Regions from separate parts of the Homo sapiens genome. Here region 2 is linked to region 1. The links are contacts of gene promoters, found by promoter capture Hi-C in human tissues and cell types (Jung and others, 2019). All regions are on one chromosome and are shown on one strand. Each heading gives the region's core, a stretch centred on a gene start or on the middle of the fragment in contact. The rest is flanking DNA. Distances are from core to core; before and after follow the strand shown. Region 1 holds the start of ARMC5 (armadillo repeat containing 5). Region 2 overlaps FBXL19 (F-box and leucine rich repeat protein 19).

Evidence for each region. The method cuts DNA at HindIII sites, captures the fragments that hold promoters and counts their contacts. A contact is called where the count stands out against the background at its distance.
Region 2: a fragment that was not itself captured here is called in contact with the fragment with the promoter of ARMC5 in region 1 in 3 of the 25 tissues and cell types used here (dorsolateral prefrontal cortex, lymphoblastoid cells and spleen).

The regions. Positions count from the first base shown.
Region 1 is chr16:31,456,301-31,463,772 of GRCh38, forward strand. It overlaps ARMC5 (armadillo repeat containing 5), which reads left to right and starts at 3,201. Exons shown (of 6, transcript NM_001105247.2): 1 at 3,201-3,699; 2 at 5,622-5,729; 3 at 5,831-6,617. The coding sequence starts at 3,225. RefSeq lists enhancers at 1,115-1,683, 2,331-2,871, 2,870-3,209 and a silencer at 3,400-3,749. The HindIII fragment of the contact is 6,359 bases long and covers 1-3,359 here.
Region 2 is chr16:30,937,410-30,944,881 of GRCh38, forward strand. FBXL19 (F-box and leucine rich repeat protein 19) reads left to right here. Exons shown (of 11, transcript NM_001382779.1): 8 at 4,707-4,870; 9 at 4,966-5,127. Among named protein-coding and RNA genes, the nearest start is that of ORAI3, 7.9 kb to the right of the region's middle. RefSeq lists a silencer at 4,601-4,730 and an enhancer at 5,155-6,097. The HindIII fragment of the contact is 5,049 bases long and covers 1,693-6,741 here.

The sequences.
Region 1 (7,472 bases), core at 1,951-4,450:
GGGTTGGTGAAACCCTCTACTAAAAATACAAACACTGGCTGGCATCGTGGCGCAAGCCTGTGGTCCCAGCTACTCGGGAGGCTGAGGCAGGAGAATCACTTTAACCCAGGAGGCGGAGGTTGCAGTGAGCTGAGATCGTGCCACTGCACTCCAGCCTGGGCAACAGAGTGAGACTCCGTCTCAAAAAAAAAAAAAAAAAAAAAAAAAAAAGATGGTAAAATTTGGGGGCAGCAGACCAGATGCCTGGACTGATGGTAGGACTGTCCCACAAGGGGTGGACATTAGGTCCTTGAAACAGACAACTCCCTCCCCCAGCAGGGAAGGGAAGGGCCTCAGAGCTTGGTGTCTACTCTGAGCACAGGCAGGTGCTTTGGGAAGCCTACCCCTGGCTCTCACATACACAAAGTTATGCCAGTAGAAATATATGTTTGGGCAATGCCCAGGCAAAAGGGCCATGTTCAGTCCCCAATGTCCAGGCACAAAGGACTCTTCGCCACTCTTCCCTCTCTTGACAGACTGGCAGAAAAGGAGCCTGGGGAACTTGGAAGGGAAGGGGATAAGGCAGGGGAAGGGGCAGATGACAAACCCTGGGCCTCTTGCCCCTGCCCAGAAATGCAACAAAGCAACCCCTGAACTCAACATACAGGTCTGTTCTGGGGCCCCCACCACCCTAGCATCATCCATAATGATAGTTCTCACGTGCTGAGAGGACTTTTGAAGGGCTCACACACCCAGGGCTCACACAATGGTCCCAAGTTCAAATTCTCTGGCCCATCTGCCAGAACACAGGATCCCTCATGGTTCCCTCTGGAGGTTAGGAATGCCCCGCCTGCGCGCTGCCATGGAACTCCTCACAGGGGCTTGCCTGATTTCTGGTCCCATTCCTCTGGGAAGAGGTAGCTGTTGTTCTAGGTGTGATTAACCCCATCACTCCCTAGGCCTGTGAAGGGACTGTGTCAGCTACTGCCAGATCTGCAGGCAGCTGGGTCCACGCTGGATAGCTCCCGCCATTCCAAAACTCTCCCTTCAGCTGGTCGACGTTCTGTCTTTGTAACTTCAAAGAACAAACCTAAGCCCTCTCAGCTGACTGGGCTCTTTGAAGGCAGTGATCACAGATCTAGTGTTCTGATTCTTCCAGACTGGGGCTCCTTTGTTAAAAACAATTTTTAAATTTGTTATTTTTTTGAGACACTCTCTGTCGCCCAGGCTGGAGTGCAGTGGCACGATCTTCGCTCACTGCAGCCTCCGCCTCCCGGGGTTCAAGTGAGTCTCCTGCCTCAGCCTCCCGAGTAGCTGGGATTACAGGCGAGAGCCAACACGCCTAGCATTTTTTTTTTAGTAGAGACAGGGTTTCAATATGTTGGCCAGGCTGGTCTCGAACTCCTGGCCTCCAGTGATCCGCTAACCTTGGCCTCCCAAAGTGCTGGGATTACAGGCATGAGCCACCATGCCCAGCCCAGACTGGGGTTCCTTGACTTAGCAAAGGGTTGGGCAAAAAGATGTGGAGACCCCCTCGCCCCAACCGAATCCCATCATTAGCTCTAAAATCAACAGCCCTAAGGGAGCAGAAGGGGGTCTGCTTAGAGATCCTGGTTCCTTCCATTTCCTTGAAGTCCGAACCAAAGTCAGAGCTGAAGTTTCAGCTAAAATTGAAGCCAGGGCTATTTGCAGAGGCTGCCGCCCTAGTGCGTCCGCTGGTGCTGGCCCAGGTTGGAGCTTTGCGCTAGGGCCCTGCCACACTGCAGGCAGACGCAGGGGTGCTGCTGTGGGCCGCCTAGTGGATGGGCAGGTGGGAGCTGTGGCCGAAGGTCTGGCCACACTCACCACCAAGCATCAGGTTTCCGGACTTTGTGACTGTGCTGGTGCCGCAGCAGATTCCAACTGTGCACAAAACTCTTACTACAAACAAGGCACTTAGAGGCCTTCTCACCCATGTGGAGCGCAGGTGCTGCAACAGGGTGGAGCCAAGGCTGAGACTCTTGCCGCAGTCCCCTCAGCGGTAAGGCTTTTAGCGGTGTGAGCGCGCTGGTGCTGGATCAGGTTGGAGCTGACGCTGAAAGTCTTACCACACTAGGCACAGGCATAGGGCCGAAGCGATGGTCACACTCGGGGCAGGAGTACGGCTTTTCACCGGTGTGTACCCAGTGGTGCTTAACCAGATCAGAGCCACATCGGAAGCTTCTGCCATAACCCGGACAACGGTAAGGCTTGTCACCAGAGGGGCTGCCTTGGTGGTGAATGAAGCCGGGGAGGCAGGCTGTGGTCAGTCCACATTTCCGGCACTCGCAGGTTTTGGGGCTTGTAGACGGTTGCTCTTGGCAAAGGCTTCTTCCTCCCCAGGGCTAGAGCCTGACCATTTTCCGGGCGGGCAGCTGCCCCGACCACACCAGGAAGGGCTGCTCAGGCGGAGCCACCTCGCAATCCAGGGGTGACCTGGGGGCTCCCCGGGACGCGAATGTCCCGCTCCCCCGCCGCCCCGCCCCGTCCGGATTCTCCCTCGCCTCTTCTGGCGCGGCCGACTGCGCTGCGAGTGAAGAACTCCCCGTTTCCTAGATGCCAGCTCCTGAGCTCACGAGCACGTCCAGAGCGGAGGACACTCGGGACACCGGGGTCCAGCTCCGGAAACGGAAAATTCCACAAGCCCGTCACTCTAGGAAGCGGCAGCGAACGTTCTCGGTAGGTTTAACCCTCTTCTTCCTCTGACCGAGCGAGGGCTCCCCGTCTGCGGCGCGGTCAGGACCCCGCACTTTCGGCCCGGCTCGGGGTTCTCGGAGTCCGTCCCAAGGCCGGGCCGCACCACCGCTGGGGGGCAGCGAAGCGAGCCTAGAGGAGAAAAGGCGGTCCCCGCCGAGTGCACGCCGGGGGCGGGGCACGGCACGAAGGCTCCGTGGTCGGACTTCTGGGCTGTTCGGAGGCCCTGGCCCACCTGGAGGGCCCTGGAAGAGTTTCCAGCGCTTCCCGAGGTAGGCGTGAGAAGCTCGACGCGGACCACATCTCCCTCATGCACCGCCCGCACGTCCCAGGATGCGCTGCGATTAAGGTACTGCCGCGCCTCGTGTGCAAGGACAGACTTCCGGGGTCGAGAACTACAACTTCCGACTTGCATCACTGCGGTGGCGCTAAACAGCGTCAGCGAGGCGGTGCCCGACGATTTCCCTGTCTTCCAGTTCCGCTCCCTGGGATCAGCGGCGAGAAGCGGGGCGGAGTCTGAGGCCCGAGCCAAGATGGCGGCTGCGAAGCCAACCCTCACGGACTCGCTCTCGTTCTGCCTCGCGCAGCTCGCGGCGGCGGCCGGGGAGGCTCTGGGTGGGGAAAAGGACCCAGCGACCAACGAGACACCCCTGAGCCGCGCGCTCCTAGCCCTCCGCACGCGCCACATCAAGGCAGCGGGGGGAATCGAGCGCTTCCGGGCACGCGGCGGGCTCCGCCCCCTACTCGCGCTGCTACGGCGAGCGGCTGCAGCGGGTTCCGCCCCGTCCCAGGCAGGCCCCGGCTCCGCCCCCTCGTCGGCCGCGTCGGGAGCTTCTAGCCCCGCCCCCGCGTCGGGCCCCGCCCCCTCCGCTGTGTCGTCGTCTAGTCCTACGCCGCCAGTGCGCCTGCGCAAGACGCTGGACTTGGCGCTCAGCATCCTAGCCGATTGCTGTACGGAAGGGGCGTGCCGGACCGAAGTGCGCAGACTCGGAGGCATACTCCCTTTGGGTAAGTGCTCCGCCCCCGTTTCCTAGAAAGATTAGGTTTGCAACTCCCTTGCTCTCTAGACCCGGGCAGTCTGGAGTTCTTTGTGTCCTATCCCGGAATAACGTGCTTTGTGATGGCGCATCGCTCCTGTTTCTCAATCTGTTGTGCCCCGTGACGTCACTGCACTCTCTATAGATGAGAGAGAGCCCTCCCAGACCAGATAATTGTAGCCATTATCTAGGAATTGGTTGTTGAGGACTTCTTTCGAAGCTGGACTAGCGGAGGCCAAAGAGTTATTTGGTGATTTTTTCAGATGATTCTTACCGTCCAGTTATGATGTTCATAGCAGACATTCAGTGCCCAACTATGTGTCCGGCCCTGTGCAAGGTTCTGAAGCCCCACTGATGAGCTGGAAGGTGTAGTGGTTCAGAAAGGGAGATCTGCAAAAGTCACCTAACCCCTCCGAGGCTAGGATTCCTTGTAAAATGGGGCAATAATAGCTACCTAAAAAAATCAGAGTGGGGAGAAAACGAAGTACAAATATGGCACGAATATGCAAATATTCTAAGCATGATACGTATTTCAAGTTATTAAAAACTAGCATAAGCTGGGTGCAGTGGTACGCGCCTGTAGTTCCAGCTATTTGGGAGGCTGAGGCGGGAGGATCCCTTGAGCCTAGGAGGTTGAGGCTGCAGTGAACAATGACTGCCTGTGAATAGCCACTGCATTCCAGCCTGGGCAACGTAACAAGACCTCGTATCTTAGAAAACCAAACAAATCAGTAGTCGCTTAGGAAGCAGGAAAAAATAAATAAAAATAATTAAAACCAGCACAGTAAGAACAAATCCTAGCAAAACATAAGCTTTTCTGTTTACCAGCTAAATTGGTGCCTCCTAGTGGCAATGTGTGAAAGCAGTTTACATGTCACTACCTGCCTTCCACGAAATTATGCTAGTTTTGATGACATCTTAACTTTTCGGATAAAGGGAAGCATTAATATATTTAAAATTTACATAAAATGTATCTGGACCATATATGTTTGACAAGAGCTTTGGTTATTAAATAACCCCCATCATTCAGCTACTATTTTTCATCTTAAATATCTTCTGAATTTATCTGCTTCTCTCTCTTCCTACTTCCATTGTGTGCCCAGAGACTGGTATCTCTGTGCTGTGTGATGCCAGTAGCTGGGTTGGTTCAAGCTATTGTCTTTTCATGCTTGGACTATTATGACAGCCTTTTGACTCCCCCCTTCCTATTCTTTCCCCATAATGCATTCTCCCTATGGATGTCAGATTGTATCGTGTCACTCCCCTTCATAAAACCCTTGTGTGGCCCCCAGTGCCTTCACATTCAAGTCCTGACCCCTTGGCCTGACATTTGAAGCCTTTCACAGACACTGTATCTTACCTCTGGGCCTTTGGAAAGGCTGCTTCCAAACCTGAAATGCCTTCTCACACCCCCATCCACCGTGCTTCTGGCAAATACCTTCCTGTGTACCCCTCCAGACCCAGCCCGAGTGTTAGCCTCTTTCTTTTTATTTTTTTGAGATGGAGTCTTGCTCTGTCATCCAGGCTGGAGTGCAGTGACACGATCTCAGCTTACTGCAACCTCTGCCTCCTGGGTTCAAGCAATTCTCCTGCCACAGCCTCCCGGGTAGCTGGGATTACAGGCGTGTACCACCATGCCCAGATAATTTTTGTATTTTTAGTAGAGATGGGGTTTGGCCCCGTTGGCCAGGCTGGTCTTGAACTCCTGACCTCAAGTGACCCACCCACCTTGGTCCCCCAAAGTGCTAGGATTACAGGCTTGAGCCACGGTGCCCTGCCGACCATTAGCCTCTTCTGAAAGCCTTCCAGGCCCTCTCAGGCCACATTCTCCAGGTTATTGATGTGAGAGACAGTAAGGGGTAGAACCCTCACAAGCCCAAACTGTCGTTGCAGTGACCATTCTTCAGTGCATGAAGACAGACAGCATCCAGAACCGAACGGCCCGTGCCCTGGGGAACTTAGCCATGGAACCTGAGAGCTGTGGGGACATCCACTGTGCTGGTAAGAGGCTGTGAGGTTGGGGTCTGCTAGGGCTTGGGGCAGAAGAAAGGCTTGAGTGTCTGTCCTTGTTCACCCTCTGTGCTCCCCTTTCCTGCCCTCAGGTGCTGTTCCCCTGCTTGTGGAGAGCCTGACAGCCTGCCAGGACTCGCAGTGCCTACAGAGCGTGGTGCGTGCCCTCCGTAACCTGGCAGACTCACCCCAGCACCGCCTGGCCTTGGCACAGCAGGGAGCAGTGCGTCCGCTGGCCGAGCTCCTGGCCACTGCCCCAGATGCTGCACTGACCTTAGCCCTCGTCCGTGCCCTCCTGGAACTCAGCCGAGGCTGCTCCCGGGCCTGTGCTGAGCAGCTAAGTCTGGGTGGGGGATTGGGCCCACTCGTCAGCCTGGCTTCCCACCCCAAGCGGGCAGTACGCGAGGGAACCATTCTGATCCTCGCCAACCTGTGTGCCCAGGGCCTGATTCGGCCTGCACTGGGCAATGCTGGTGGCGTGGAGGTGCTGGTAGATGAGCTCCGGCAGCGCCGGGATCCTAATGGAGCTAGCCCAACCTCCCAGCAGCCCCTGGTGCGGGCTGTGTGCCTCCTATGTCGTGAGGCCATCAACCGGGCCCGACTGCGGGATGCTGGTGGCTTGGATCTACTGATGGGCCTGCTGCGGGACCCTCGTGCAAGCGCATGGCACCCTCGTATTGTGGCTGCCCTTGTGGGGTTTCTGTATGACACTGGGGCCCTGGGCCGGCTGCAGGCTCTGGGACTTGTGCCTCTCCTGGCTGGGCAGCTGTGTGGTGAGGCTGGTGAGGAGGAAGAAGAGGGAAGAGAAGCTGCTTCCTGGGACTTTCCTGAGGAGAGGACCCCTGAGCGGGCACAGGGTGGAAGCTTCCGGAGCCTCAGGTGAGTCCCTGCCTCAGGGCTTGGGAGGGTGAGCAGTGCAGTGATGTGGGGTTTGTGTCTGTCTTGGTCCTCTTCACTACCTCCACCCCTATTCTGTCTGAATAAGACTTTTATAACCCAGACTCCTGATTCCCACACGACCACCTGCCAGTTCCTATTTAACACACTCCACTCCCCTGAGTCTACCTTTTTTTTTTTCGAGACAGAGTCTCACTCTGTCACCTAGGCTGGAATGCAGTGGTGCCATCTCCACTCACTGCAACCTCTACCTCCTTGGTTCAAGCAGTTCTCCTGCCTCAGCCTCCCGAGTAGCTGGGATTACAGGTGCCGGCCACCACTCCCAGCTAATTTTTGTATTTTTAATAGAGACAAGGTTTCACCATGTTGGCCAGCCTGGTCTCGAACTCCTGACCTCAGGTGATCCACCCGCCTCAGCCTCCTAAAGTCCTGGGATTACAGGCATGAGCCACTGCACTGGCTGGATCTACCTTTTAACCTTGGTTCCACGCCAGCACCTTTGAACTTTGGGCCCCAGACAAGTTCACTGGGAGGTGGGATATACGCTGGTTAAGATGGTGGGCTCTGGAGTCCAAGTTCTTACTCTCTTACCATCACTCATGAGCTGAAGCATCACAGGAAAGCTGAGGAACTCTTTATTTTTTTTTAAACATTAGCGTTGGGGATCTCGCTTTGTTGCCCAGGCTGGTCTTGAACTCTTGGCTTCCAGTGACCCTCCTGGCTCAGCCTCCCAAAGTGTAGGGATTACAGATGTGAGCCACCATGCCCAGCCCCCAGCGCTTCCTATTTCCTTTTTATTTTCTCCATGACCCCTGTACTCTACACTAGCCCCACACT
Region 2 (7,472 bases), core at 2,967-5,466, 520 kb before region 1:
TACCATGCCCCTTGTCACCTCAGTTACTGCGGACTGTCCATGTCTCCCTGACTGTATGGCAGGAACCTGTCATCTTTGCCTCCTCCGTGCCCAGTGGAAGCCAGATACTTGGGATCAGTAGGGCCCTCAGTGACTGTTGGTTGTCCCTCTGAGGTTTAACCCCAGTGTCCTGGTTGTACAAGAGCAGGGGGACTGATGAGCTGTAGCCAAGGAAGGTGTGGGAGACTTCCTGGAAGAGGAGGCACTGGAGCCGAGCCACGAAGGCTCTGGGTTGGCATTTCTGGCAGAGGCACAGCATGTGCCACAACGTGTTGGCATCAGACAGCACTGTGTCTATAGGTGGGCAGGTGTGTGGCCTGGCTGTTGTGGAGTATGATACAGAAACACAACTGGGGTCCTGTGGGTGCCCCCAGGGAAAGGGGCTTCCTTCCAGCTGTGGACCGTGGAAGGGAAGTGGCTTCAAGGAAGTGGTGACAGTTAAGCTGGGAGGCAGTCGTGGCAGGGTCACAGTGGGCAGAGAGAGGTTTTGGATAGAGCAGATGTCACCGATTTTCTTGCTCACAGAAAGAGCAAAGGGGCAGGACCTAGGGGTAGAAGCTGGGTCGGGCATGAGTTGGTTTTTTTCCTTTTCATGTTTTGAATTGGAGAGATTTGCAGATGTTTATTAGTTGAGAGGAAGGAATCAGGAGAGGGAGAGGCTAGAATGCCAGAAAAGCAGGATGAGGGTAGGAGGGAACAGGAGAGCGAGTGGCAGAGGGGTGAAGGTGTTCGGACTGAAGCCTTGGTGTCTGTGCCCTCAGCCTTCTCTAAAACGTCACACCAGGGCTGGGCCCAGTGGCTCACGCCTGTAATCCCAGCACTTTGGGAGGCTGAGGCAGGAGAATTGCTTGAGCCCAGGGGTTCAAGACAAGCTTGGGCAACATAGTGAGACCCCCATCTCTATTAAAAAAGAAAAAATTAGCTAAGCATACCTGTGGTCCCAGCCACATGGGAGGCTGAGGCAAGGGGATCACTTGAGCCCAGGAGTTTGAGGCTGCAGTGAGCTATGATTGCATCACTGAGCTCTAGCCTGGGCGACAGTGAGACTTTGTCTGAAAAAAATAATGAAATGACACACTGGGCCTCTGGAGTAGGTCTGGCATTTTTCAGTGACACAAAAATATGGCTTAATCCCTCTGTGAGTTTTGGAAAGGAAGTCTTTCCATTGGAAGGAAGTCTCTCCATCGGGTGCTTTTTTTCTTTTTTGAGATGGAGTCTTGCTCTGTCGCCCAGGCTGGAGTGCAGTGGTGCAGTCTCGGCTCACTGCCAGCTCCGCCTCCTGGGTTCACGCCATTCTCCTGCCTCAGCCTCCTGAGTAGCTGGGACTACAGGCGCCTGCCACCACGCCCGGCTAATCTTTTGTATTTTTAGCAGATACGAGGTTTCACCGTATTAGCCAGGATGGTCTCCATCTCCTGATCTCGTGATCCGCCTGCCTCGGCCTCCCAAAGTGCTGGGATTACAGGCGTGAGCCACTGCGCCTGGCCACTATTGGGTGCTTTTTCTAACACTTCTCTGATACTTATCTCCCTGTTTAACAAAAGTAGTCTTCAGGTAGTAGCCTAAAGCCACAGCAACACCTGGCTAGGATTTAATAACTCTGGTCTTTTTTGTGTTTTATTTATTTATTTATTTATTTTTGAGACAGAGTCTCGCTCTGTCACCCAGGCTGGAGTGCAGTGGCGCAATCTCGGCTTACTGCAAGCTCCGCCTCCCAGGTTCATGCCATTCTCCTGCCTTAGCCTCCCAAGTAGCTGGGACTACAGGTGCCCGCCACCACGCCCGGCTAATTTTTTGTATTTTTAGTAGAGATGGGGTTTCACCGTGTTAGCCAGGATGGTCTCAATCTCCTGACCTCGTGATCTGTCCACCTTGGCCTCCCAAAGTGCTGGGATTACACCACACTTGGACTTTTGTGTTTATTTTTAAGATTAACATATTTATGTGAAACAATACTGGGGTTTTTTTTTTTGTTTTTTTTTTGAGACGGAGTCTCGCTCTGTCGCCCAGGCTGGAGTGCAGTGGCACGATCTCGGCTCACTGCAAGCTCCACCTCCCAGATTCACGCCATTCTCCTGCCTCAGCCTCCCGAGTATCTGGGACTACAGGCGCCCTCCACCACGCCCAGCTAATTTTTTGTATTTTTTTTTTAGTAGAGACGGGGTTTCACTGTGTTAGCCTGGATGGTCTTGATCTCCTGACCTAGTGATCCACCCACCTCGGCCTCCCAAAGTGCTGGGATTACACGCATGAGCCACCGCGCCCGGCAACAATACTGGTTTTAAGTGCAAAGAGGAGATGATTCAAAGATAAATCATGTTACGCAGATAAGTGAACAGCAAATACTGGAGCTTGGGAATCACTGCCCCAGCCCAGGGCTTCTACAAGGAAAAGCCTTTCAGAGTCATGAGGGCAGGGAGGGAGGCAAGAGAAAGCTTCCCTTGGGAGGCCAAGGGAAGGATCGCTTGAGCTCAGGAGTTCAAAACCAGCCTGGACAACCTTGTCTCTACTAAAAATAAAAAAATAGGCCAGGCACAGTGGCTCACGCCTGTAATCCCAGCACTATGGGAGGCCAAAGTGGGCAGATCACCTGAGGTCAGGATTTCGAGACCAGCCTGGCCAACATGGAGAAACCCTATCTCTACTAAAAATACAAAAAATTAGCCGGGCGTGGTGGCGCATGCCTGTAATCCCAGCTACTCTGGAGGCTGAGGCGGGAGAATCGCTTGAACTTGGGAGATGGTGGTTTCAGTGAGCCAAGATCACACCATTGCACTCCAGCCTGGGCAACAAGAGCGAAACTCTGTCTCAAAAAAAAAAAAAAAGTCAGGTGTGGTGGCATGTGCCTGTAGTCCCAGCTACTCAGGAGGCTGAGGTAGGAGGATGGCTTGAGCCCAGGAGTTTAAGGTTGCAGTGAGCTGTGATCGCAGTACTGCACCCCAGCCTGGGTGACTAAGCAAGACACTGTCTCAAGAAAAAAAAAAAAAAGCTTCCTGGGCCTGCTGCTTCTGACACAGTCTATTGAGTCTCAGAGGCATTTCTGGACATGCCTTTGAGAACTACTGAACTCAGAGAAGAGAGTTCTCAAACTGAGTCCAAAGGAACTTCAGTGTACTACAAAATGTTACTAGATTACCTTGGGAGAGGTGGGGAAGGATTCCTGGGGAAGTACGTTTGAGAGGCCCTTCTCCAGTTCACTGCATGTTTTTTGTTTGTTTGTTTGTTTGTTTGTTTTTGAGATGGAGTCTCTCACTGTTGCCCCAGCTGGTGTGCAGTGGTGCGATCTCGGCTCGCTGCAATCTCCGCCTCCCGGGTTCAAGTAATTCTCCTGCCTCAGCCTCCCGAGTAGCTAGGATTACAGGCGCCCGCCACCATGCCCAGCTAATTTTTTGTACTTTTAGTAGAGACAGGGTTTCACTAGTAGAACAGCCAGGCTGTTCTCGAATTCCTGACCTCATGATCCACCCACCTCGGCCTCCCAAAGTGCTGGGATTACAGGTGTGAGCCACTGCACCCAGCCCACTGCATGTTAGATAGTCTGTTGAGGCCTGTGGAGTGCTCGGGTTAGGAAACCTGTTTAATGTTGCTTAGGACTCGTTCATCTTTGTAGCTTCAATACTTGGGACCTATAACGCTTTCTATAATCAGAGTGAATAAATGAAATGCTGTAGATGAGGAGGTGGGGGAGAGTGGTCAGTGGAAGCTTTAAGTAGTTACTAGCTTGATTCATTCATTACAAATGGGCAGCTGGGTGCAGTAGCTCATGCCTGTAATCCCAGTGTTTTGGGAGGCCAAGGCAGGAGGATCGCTTGAGGCCAGGAGATCAAGACCAGCCTAGGCAACATAGTGAGACCCTGTCTCTACAAAAAAATTGTTTAAAAATTAGCCAGGCGTGGTGACATGTGCCTGTGGTCCCAGCTACTCAGGAGGCTGAGGTGGGAGGATTGCTTGAGCCCAGTAGGTTGAGGCTGCGGTGAGCCTGAGTCCAGCCTGGGTTACAGAGTGAGACCCTGTCTCAAAAAAAATTTTTTTTCAAAAAGTGGAAAACGCAAATCTGCCCTTGTGGAATTTACATTGTAGTTGGAGGAACACAGTAATGTAATAGGGAAGATATTAGGGCTGTAAGTCCAGCTGCGGGCAGCTGGCTGTCAAGATGGGACAGGTGTGGATCAGAAGCAGAGATGAGTAAAGGAGGCAAGGACCCATGAGCACCAGAACTCAGTCAGGAATCAAGAAGCCCAAGGGTGGCTGGAGACGACTGGATAACACCAGTCCCCTTGGCATGACATCAGGCAGCATGCGTGGCATTTGTGTATGTGTTGGGCAGCACACTTTCTATGCTGGGAGGCCCACAGCTGGGATGAGCCCATGTGACCTGACAGCTGCCCTGTGGGCAGGCAGAGTGGGGGGGCTATTGCCTTCAATCATAAACGAGGCTTCTGAGGCTCAGGGAGAGGAACAGACTTGCCCAGGGTCTCATTTCCAGTTAGTGATGGAGTTGGGTTCCAATCCCAGTGCTCTTGGCTGAGGTCAGGTGCTTCTTGCTACCCTGTTGTCTGTGTGGCCAGAAGAGAGCTGGGGTGCACCCTTGGAGCTGGGGAGCCTGGGAACTGTGGGCTGCTGAGAGCTGAGGGCTGAGGTCTCTGTCTCCCCCCTATGGCCGCCAGGTGCTATGACAAGCGTCTGTGGCCTCGAATGGACCTGAGCCGGCGGAAGTCACTGACCCCGCCCATGCTCAGTGGTGTGGTTCGCCGCCAGCCCCGTGCCCTGGACCTCAGCTGGACAGGTGTCTCCAAGAAGCAGCTCATGTGGCTTCTGAACCGACTACAAGGTAGGGTGTGTGGTACGGAGGACAGGGTGGGGACAGGGACAGGCCTGGGATGGAGTCCTCACAGCACCTGCTTCCTGACTGCCCCCTCTCCGCAGGCCTGCAGGAGCTGGTGCTCTCTGGCTGCTCCTGGCTCTCTGTCTCTGCCCTGGGCTCAGCCCCACTGCCAGCCCTGCGGCTCCTGGACCTCCGCTGGATCGAGGATGTTAAAGACTCCCAGCTCCGGGAGTTGCTGCTGCCTCCACCAGACACCAAACCAGGTGCAACCTCTGTTTGCTTTTCTGGAGAATGGGCTGGGCAAGGGTAGGGTAGGAGGCCTCTCAGGTCTCTTCTGACTCATGCTGGATGGTAAAGTATTTGAAGAAAGGAAAGAATACATGAGTTTGAATAGGAAGGCCCTGGTTGGGCATTATTCATTCATTCACCCACCTGCTGTGTACTTTGAACTGAGTCTTGAAAGGAACAGGGTTTTCCCAGGGAGTGTGAGACTCAGCAGTTTGGTGGGGCAGGAGGCCCATATTGGCAGAGGGGGATGCTGGGAGCAGAGGCCATCTCTCTTCATCTACTTAAATCTCATCATCCTTTAGGCCTGGGTATAAATGCCACTTCCTCCAAGAAGCTCTCCCTGATCCCACCCCACATTGAGCTCAGAGTCCCTCTCAGCTTTGAGAGCAGCCCGCCAGCATAATACTGGGCAATTGTGGAGTGCCTTGATGCACATCTGTGCCCTCCTGCCAGGGTCTCCAGCTCCCTGAGGGCAAGCGCTGGCTGGTCCCCCAGCACGTTCTCAGTGGCTGCTCCATAGATAGCTGTTGAATGAATAACTTGAATGAGCAATCAGGATGGGAGAGGTCTAGTTTGAGGAAAGATTTTCAAAAGGAGATTTGCAGTCCCCTGAAATAAGATAATCCTTTTGTTTGTTTTTGTTTTTTGAGACCATCTGGCTCTGTCACCCAGACTGGAGTGCAGTGGCAAGATCTCGGCTTACTGCAACTTATGCCTCCTGGGTTCAAGTGATCCTCCCCACCTCAGCCTCCTGAGTAGCTGGGCCTACAGGCGTGTGCCACCACGCCTGGCTAATTTTTTTGTAATTTTTTTTTTTTTTTTTTTTTTTTTGAGGTGAAGTCTTGCTCTGTCGCCCAGGCTGGAGTGCAGTGGTGCTATCTCGGATCACTGCAAGCTCCACCTCCCGGGTTCACGCCATTCTCCTGCCTCAGCCTCCCAAGTAGCTGGGACTACAGGCGCCCGCCACCACGCCTGGCTAATTTTTTGTATTTTTAGTAGAGACGGGGTTTCACTGTGTTAGCCAGGATGGTCTTGATCTCCTGACCTCATGATCCGCCTGCCTCGGCCTCCCAAAGTGCTGGGATTACAGGTGTTAGCCACCGCACCCGGCCTGTAATTCTTATAGAAACAGGGTTTCATCATGTTGTCCAGGCCGATCTCGAACTCCTTGTCTCAAGTGATCTGCCCACCTCTGCCTTCCAAAGTGTTGGGATTATAGGCGTGAGCCACCACACCTGGCCAAAAGAATCTTTTCTTTTGGAGTTCTTTCACCCCTCTCTTTCATAGTTCCCTTCTTCCCACCATGCCCCCTCCACAACAGCCCTGAAAGGGGAGAATAGAGAAGCAACTAAGATTCTTCCCGTATTCTAGATGAGGCACTGGAGGCCCAGAGGGATTGACTGCTGCAGGTCACCCAGTCAGGCCAGAGCACTCAGCCATTGTCCACTCTTACCAGAATTGGACTGAGTTGGAGAGCTATGGGTGGGGGGTAAGGTGGGCATTGGGAATGGTGCATCCTGGGAGGTGAGAAAGTGCTGGCTGGTCCATTTCCTCCTGCTGGAATTCAGTTCAGTTCAGCCCTTTATCAGGAGCTCAGGAAGGTGGGCCTTTTTTTTTTTTTTTTTTTTTTTTTTTAGTTTTTAAATTTTTTTTTTAACTTTTAAGTTCATGGGTATATGTGCAGGTTTGTTAAATGGGTAAACTTGTGTCATGGGGGTTTGTTGTACCGATTATTTCATCACCCAGGTATTAAGTCTATTTACCATTAGTTATTTCTCCTGATCCTCTCCCTCCTCCCTCTGAAAGGCTCCAGGGTGTGTTGTTCCCATGGATGTGTCCATGTGTTCTCATCATTTAGCTCCCATTTCTAAGTGAGAACATGCAATTTCTGTTCCTGCATTAGTTTGCTAAGGATAATGGCCTCCAGCTCCTTCCATGTTCCTGTAAAGGACATGATCTTGTTCTTTTTTATGGCTGCATAGTATTCCATGGTGTATATGTACCACATTTTCTTTATTCATTCTTTCATTGATGGGCATTGAGGTTGATTCCATGGCTTTTACTATTGTGAACAGTGCCATACACCTTCAAACTCTTGCCCAGCTTAAATGCCACCACCTCAGTGAAATCCTCACTGATGCCTACTCCTCCCTGCCCAAGCCAGAAGTGACTTCTCTTTCCTCTGCTTTCCTCTATGGGCCTTTCCTCCTTGTGCCTTTAGCTGTGGCCCAAGGTTGAGGGCATCTGTAAAGGTATCCCCTCTCCAGGCGCTTGGCTCCTCAAAGACAGGAGGAGGGGTTAAAATTTAGGGCTTGCAAAG